2 separate regions of the Homo sapiens genome follow, and region 1 is linked to region 2. Evidence: promoter capture Hi-C in 16 types of primary human blood cells and fetal thymus (Javierre and others, 2016). All regions are on one chromosome and are shown on one strand. The core of a region is centred on a gene start or on the middle of the fragment in contact, and the rest is flanking DNA. Distances in the headings are between cores, read along the strand shown. Region 1 overlaps BICD1 (BICD cargo adaptor 1). Region 2 holds the start of H3-5 (H3.5 histone).

The links. Contacts are between HindIII fragments. The CHiCAGO score rates a contact against its expected background, and 5 or more counts as called.
Region 1: a fragment that was not itself captured here is called in contact with the fragment with the promoter of H3-5 in region 2 in 2 of 17 cell types (total B cells and naive B cells); the score reaches 8.1 in total B cells.

What each region holds. Positions count from the first base shown.
Region 1 is chr12:32,305,853-32,309,548 of GRCh38, reverse strand. It overlaps BICD1 (BICD cargo adaptor 1), which reads right to left. Exons shown (of 10, transcript NM_001714.4): 4 at 3,427-3,696. Among named protein-coding and RNA genes, the nearest start is that of FGD4, 92 kb to the left of the region's middle. The HindIII fragment of the contact is 439 bases long and covers 2,025-2,463 here.
Region 2 is chr12:31,790,176-31,793,657 of GRCh38, reverse strand. H3-5 (H3.5 histone) reads left to right here and starts at 1,360. Exons shown (of 1, transcript NM_001013699.3): 1 at 1,360-2,473. The coding sequence starts at 1,492. The coding sequence ends at 1,899. The HindIII fragment of the contact is 13,966 bases long and covers 1-3,482 here.

The DNA.
Region 1 (3,696 bases), core at 995-3,494, 520 kb before region 2:
AAGGCCTTTAATGGTCCTCATCTTATTCTTAGTGTGAATACTCATGTTTCACTGCAGAAATGTTAATATTATTTGATCACCGGATGCTGCATCTGATCCCAGTGGAGATATCACAATCTATGTGGTATATGCTGCATATTACCTTTCTACAATCTGAAACCTGAATTTTTAAAACACACCTGGTCCCAAGCATTCCAGATAGCTATACTTAAAGTACATTTGATTGGTTCCTCTTCATAATTTCCAGAACAATGGTACTGACACATATATGCTTCAGGTGCACAGTACTCTCATTGATCAGACTTGCCATATTATTTTTAATCCTTATTAACATCAAAGCCAATTACAATAAATTCTAGGCAATGTATCCTGTAATGTTTTTGTAATGTGTTTATTTACATAAATTTAACCCAAAAAGATGTGTGGCTAAGGAAAAAACTGTATTGCAAAAAAATAGTTCATGAGAAGGTATACTTCTCATGAATATACTTGTTTGAATAAAATATATTCTTAGGAAAAGCTGACATGCTTTTTAAAAACGCTGATTACAAGAAGATAAATGGATATTCTACCTAAAAAAAAATTTACAGTTAGTGTTGTTAGTATGAGATTGGAAGCTGCAAAGCCCTTCCTGTGTTGAACCTGGTTTTCACAACTAAATCTGGAGCAAACTTTGGGATATAAGGACCTACCTGCGCCCCTCTACATCTTTGCAAACTGTCAACATCAGTTAAGGGTTGAAGAAAGATTTGAAGGGACACAGCTTTCTCAATAGACTGATGGAGGGTTTATCCAGCAAAGTTTTTCTCACCCTAACATTTTGCTAAATGAATATCCTTTTTCAGACCTTCTTGCACCATGAGACTTAACTGTTATTTTTCTATATTCCTACCAGTATCCACATCAGTCCCTTTTGGGGTGATTGGCCTTGAGCTAATAGCCCAAAAATAATAGTTAATAATAATTATCTAAATTATTATAAAGTGAGTGCCTAATAAATTAAAGGACCAATGGAGTTGAAATAATGATAACAGTTCATAATTAATGAGCATTTACTGTGCACTAGTCCCTGTTCTCAGCACTCTGCATATAACTCATAAACCTTCATGACACTCTAACGAGGAAGGTATTATGTATCCCATTCCATGGGAAAGTAAAGTGCTGTCCTCTAAGAATGACTGTCAACTAGTGGCTGACTCTCAGAGCATTTGAAATACATGGGGAGTTTCTGGTCATCACTTCAACTGAGGAAATGTAACCAGCATCTCATGAGTTGGGATCAGAGACGCTAAACCTTCTCAAGGAAGAAAACATTCTCTGGCAATGAGGAACCGCCTAAACCAAACGAAAACGACAGTCTATTGAGAACTCAGGAGAGCCAGTCTCCAGCTGAGTACTTACTTGTTTTCCACCATTCTTTTAATTGAACTTTTCATCTTTTTTAGACTTTTGTATTACCCAATTCAGATCACATTTAGAATTAAATCTGAGCACAGCTCTGAGCTTTCAGCCAATAGATGACCTGCTTGAAAATTGTTGTGCTGTTTCATGCATAGAAGCCTCTTTTCCTATTATCTTCTGCACTGCCACCAAAACAAAAGGAATAAACAAAAAGCCTGAACCCACTAACTTTTTATCTCAAAGCCACCAATATGAGAGTTAAACAAAACTCATAAAACTTCTATTTAATGGTATTCAATCTGGGGGGCACAAATTCTTATGAATACATCTGTCATGTAAAACTTTTTCACAAGGAAATATGTTTTCTGTTTCAATCAATCTAGTCATATTAGTGTAAACTGAGCAAAAAGACATAGAAAATAAACCTGTTAACAAATCAACATCATTGGCTCTCTGTTCTCTTACTTATTTCTGCTAATTTCACTTTTCCAGTCATCATTTCCGTGGAGGCAGATGACTGCCAGAGGCTTAACAGCCTCTAATTATCAGCTATACATGAAGAACCTTGGAGAGATAAGATTGAGATTGAAGATTAAGCCTCAAATTTAATCACTTAACAAGCTTGTTATACCAGATTTCTAGTTCAGTTTCTAGTTCAGTAGATCTACACGGAGCTCCACAATTTGTATAAATAAGCCCCCAGGTGATGGTAATGCTGCTGTTTCTTAAACAACATTTCCATTACATGTGGCAGGAAGGCAAGACTCTAAACTAGAAAGCGATTTTTTCAAGGCTGGGATCTTCACAAGACATTTGTTTTGAAGACGCTAAAAATTTAAGGTTTAACTCATGTTGCAATAAGAATCCTTTGGTCTTAGATTATACCTGTTCTGTATTTTTAATCATACGGTATCCTGGATAATTTGTACATAGGAAGTCCTTTACGTCTTTTAAGGCTTCAAGTATTCCTGTGAAATGTAACCATAAATCTGGAAGCTATAAACACAGTTGCTTGTGATGAAAAACTGCATGGTTTCCATCATTTTACTTGTATATAAAGCTTTTGAATTCTTTTGTTAATCAGAAATGCATTAAGGCTCTGTCTTTTCTTTTTTCTTTTTCTTTTTTTTTTGAGATGACGTTTCACTCTTGTTGCCCAGGCTGGAGTGCAATGGCGATCTCGGCTCACTGCAATCTCCACCTCCCGGGTTCAAGTGATTCTCCTGACTCAGCCTCCTGAGTTAGGTGGGATTACAGGCACCCACCACCACGTCCAGCTAATTTTTTGTATTTTTAGTAGCGATGGGGTTTTACCATGTTGGCCAGGTTGGTCTTGAACTCCTGACTTCAGGTGATCCGCCCGCTTCAGCCTCTCAAAGTGCTGGGATTACAGGTGTAAGCCACCGCGCCCGGCCCAAGGAACTTTTTTCTGTCTTTTCTCAGACTTCATTGGAGCTCAATTTGTGGCTCTCAGAAGTTCATTTCTTGAAGTGATGCAAATGAGAGACTGCATTTCTCTTTAACGCTCCTTCTGTCATGTCTTTCTAAAATACTGCACTTTCGAAGTTTCTAGCTGAAGAAGCAATATTTAGAAAAGAAAGCTGGGGCTGGGCGCGGTGGCTCACGCCTGTAATCCCAGCACTTTGGAGGCCAAGGCGGGCGGATCACGAAGTCAGGAGATCGAGACCATCCTGGCTAATACGGTGAAACCCCGTCTCTACTAAAAATACAAAAAAATTAGCCGGGCATGGTGGCGGGCACCTGTAGTCCCAGCTACTCGGGAGGCTGAGGCAGGAGAATCACTTGAACCTGGGAGGCGGAGGTTGCAGTGAGCCGAAATTGCACCACTGTACTCCAGCCTGGGCGATGGAGCAAGACTCTGTCTCGAAAAGAACAGAAAAGAAAAGAGAAGAAAAGAAAAAAGAAAAGAAATCTAGAAGTGAAATGCGAGAATCAGAAGTCCCACAACATGCTACCTGCAATCTACAAGAAATTCACTCTAGCGGCCCTAAACAAAGTTCTTACCTGCATAAGCTGCTGCTTCAACTTCTGTATTTCTGAAATGTTCAGCTCACTGAATAAGTCAGAGACAGGGTTCAGAGACTCTCCTTTCCTTAAGGTGGGAGTCCGATAGTCTCCATTCAGTTTCACAAGAGGCCCATGGATATGACCGTTCATTTTGTCATCATTGTTTGGTTCACTCCCATCCTCGGCAAATTTGAGTCCATCTACTGAGATGCTGATATGGTTATCATTGAGGCTGATATACTGGGAGAGCTCCTTCCGCAGGTTGTT
Region 2 (3,482 bases), core at 111-2,610:
TAGGTTCAAGCAAGTCTCCTGCCTCAGCCTCCCGAGTAGCTGGGACTACAGGCGTATGCCACCACGCTTGGCTAATTTTTGTATTTTTAGTAGAGACAGGTTTTGCCATGTTGGCCAGGCTCGTCTCAAACTCCTGACCTCGTGATCCACCTGCCTCGGCCTCCCAGTGCTACCATTACAGGCGGAGCCACCACACCTGGCTCACTTTGTGGCATATTTCTAGAAGTTAAAAAACTCACCTGACAAAAGAGATACTTTGTGGCCAGGCACGGTGGCTCACTCCTGTAATCCCAGCACTTTGGGAGGCTGAAGTGGGTGGATCACTTCACGTCAGGAGTTCGAGACCAGCCTGGCGAAAATGGTAAAACCCCCGTCTCTACTAAAAATACAAAAATTAGCCAGGTGTGGTGGCAGGCACCTGTAATCCCAGCTACTTGGGAGGCTGAGACAGGAGAATTGCTTGAACCTGGGAGGTGGAGGTTTCAGCGAGACGAGATCGTGCCATTGCACTCCAGCCTGGGTGAGGACAGTGAAACTCCATCTCCCAAAAAACAAAAAAAAAAAAAAAAAAGAGAGAGAGAGAGAGAAACTTTATGATTTACTCCATGGAACAAATATCATATAGAACTGTAACATTTAAAAGTCAGATTTCTGTTTCTAAACTTTAGGTTTATACCTCTTGGCAGATGACTAGATGATTCTTTCCCCATTCCAAGAGTAACAGATATTCAGCCAACTTGTGTGTGTGTTTATCACATGTGATTCCACATTTCAGTTTGTTTCTCTATATTTTTTGTATTTTAAATTGGACAAGTATTACTTTTATAATAAGAAAAAAGATAATTACTAAAAATAAATGAGAAATACATATACATGTAGAATTTGCATAGTGTCAAGTAAATGATAAGGGTAGAAAGAGTGCAGAGAAAAAAAGGATGAAAACGAAGGTGGCTGAAGAATGCTTTGTGACGGAGGTGGGATTGAAATGAGCTTTGAAAGGCCGGGTGCAGTGGCTCACACCTGTAATCCCAGTAATTTGGGAGGCTGCGGCGGGCGGATCACCTGAGGTCAGGAGTTTGAGACCAGCCTGGCCAACATGGTGAAACTCCGTCTCTACTAAAAATACAAAAATTAACCAGGTGTGGTGGCAGGCGCCTGTAATCCCAGCTACTCTGGAGGCTGAGGCAGGAGAATCGCTCGAACCTGGGAGGTGGAGGTTGTAGTGAACCGAAATCACGCCACTGCACTCCAGCCTGGGCAACAAAGCGAGACTCCGTCTCAAAAAACAAAACAACAACAAAAAACGAAACACCGAAATGGGCTTTGAAGAATGGAAGGGATGCAGATAAAAGAGAGGAGGGCGCAGAGCGGTTTGGTCGTTCGTTGGACCAGTGTCGGTTCTTCGCTCGCGACTGCGGCTCTTCCTCGGGCAGCGGAAGCAGCGCGGAGGTCGGAGAAGTGGCCTAAAACTTCGGCGTTGGGTGAAAGAAAATGGCCCGAACCAAGCAGACTGCTCGTAAATCCACCGGTGGGAAAGCCCCCCGCAAACAGCTGGCCACGAAAGCTGCCAGGAAAAGCACCCCCTCTACCTGCGGGGTGAAGCCTCATCGCTACAGGCCTGGGACCGTGGCGCTTCGAGAGATTCGTCGTTATCAGAAGTCGACCGAGCTGCTCATCCGGAAGCTGCCCTTCCAGAGGTTGGTGAGGGAGATCGCGCAGGATTTCAACACTGACCTGAGGTTTCAGAGCGCAGCCGTCGGTGCGCTGCAGGAGGCTAGCGAAGCGTACCTGGTGGGTCTGTTGGAAGATACTAACCTGTGTGCCATCCACGCTAAGAGAGTCACCATCATGCCCAAAGACATCCAGTTGGCTCGCCGGATACGGGGAGAGAGAGCTTAAGTGAAGGCAGTTTTTATGGCATTTTGTAGTAAATTCTGTAAAATACTTTGGTTTAATTGGTGACTTTTTTTGTAAGAAATTGTTTATATGTTGCATTTGTACTTAAGTCATTCCATCTTTCACTCAGGATGAATGCGAAAAGTGACTGTTTACAGACCTCAGTGATGTCAGCACTGTTGCTCAGGAGTGACAAGTTGTTAATATGCAAAACGGATGCGTGATATTTCTTGCTTCTCATGATGCATGTTTCTGTATGTTAATGACTTGTTGGGTAGCTATTAAGGTACTAGAATTGATAAATGTGTACAACAGGGTCCTTTTGCAATAAAACTGGTTATGACTTGATCCAAGTGTTTAACAATTGGGGCTGTTAAGTCTGACCATACATCACTGTGATAGAATGTAGGCTTTTTCAAGGGTGAAGATACAAACCTTAACCACAGTGTAACTTATAGTTTCCTTTAAAAAAAAAAAATTAAACCTGGCAGCTATAGAATACAATATGTGCATTTATAATAGCTATTTTATATATTGTAGTGTCAACATTTTCAAATTAAATGTTTTACATTCACAAGTGGTGGGGAGTCTTGTCATTAAGGTGTGTGTAATTTAGAGTCCAGTTGGTTTTCTTCTGACTGCACTTGTTCTCATAGTAGTAAAATGCTATGTGCATTTATACCTTGCATAAATCCTCATTCTACCACATGTTAACTAACCCTCTAGCTGATAATGGAAACACTAACTGGGGGATTTTATTTATAAGGGCTCTAGAAAAAAATATGAGTTATTCACACCAGCATCATCTGTTAACTAATATTCTGAACTAGTGCAGCTTTTCATTGTGTTGTGTGGTTGGTCTCATAACTAGGTTGAGTTTTCTCCTCTGCTAAGAGGAAACAGTACTGAAGTTCTTTTTCTTGTGGCATTTGTATTATAAAAACTTGGTGTAGGGGAGGAGCACAAAGCTCTAGCCCACTGAACCTCTGCCGGTTAAGATGGTGTTAGGTTAGGTTACATCTGGTTACTGTCCTGGGAAAATCATTTTTATAGAGATGGCCTTCCAAGTGGTTTTAAAATTTATCTTATTGAAGTTTTTAGGTCAATTATGTATGTTGACTAAATTTACAAATAAACTTGTTTATCCAAAAAAAAAAAAAGAGAGGAAAAGAATCAGAAATATTGGAGAGTAGAAATGCAACAGAAGAGAACTATAAAGTTTATGTTGGGGGAAAACAATTAGTTTGTCTCAAGTGTAGTATTTACGCAAAGGAGAAAACTTTAGGGATGTAGGGCCCACATTGTAAAGAGCTTGGAATTAGGATTTAAGGAATTTTATACTCTATCCTGCAAAATTCACAGACAAATTTGAGAACTGACTAGCATTTTAACTTGCAAAAAAAGACAAGTTAGTACAGAACTAGCACATCTAATTTTTAAAAAAGTATTTGAACTATAACATGGTGAAATCCCGTCTCTATTAAAAATACAAAAATTAGCTGGATGTGGTGGTGGGCGCCTGTAATCCCAGCTACTGTCAAGGCTGAGGCAGGAGAATTGCCTGAACCCAGGAAGTGGAGGTTGCA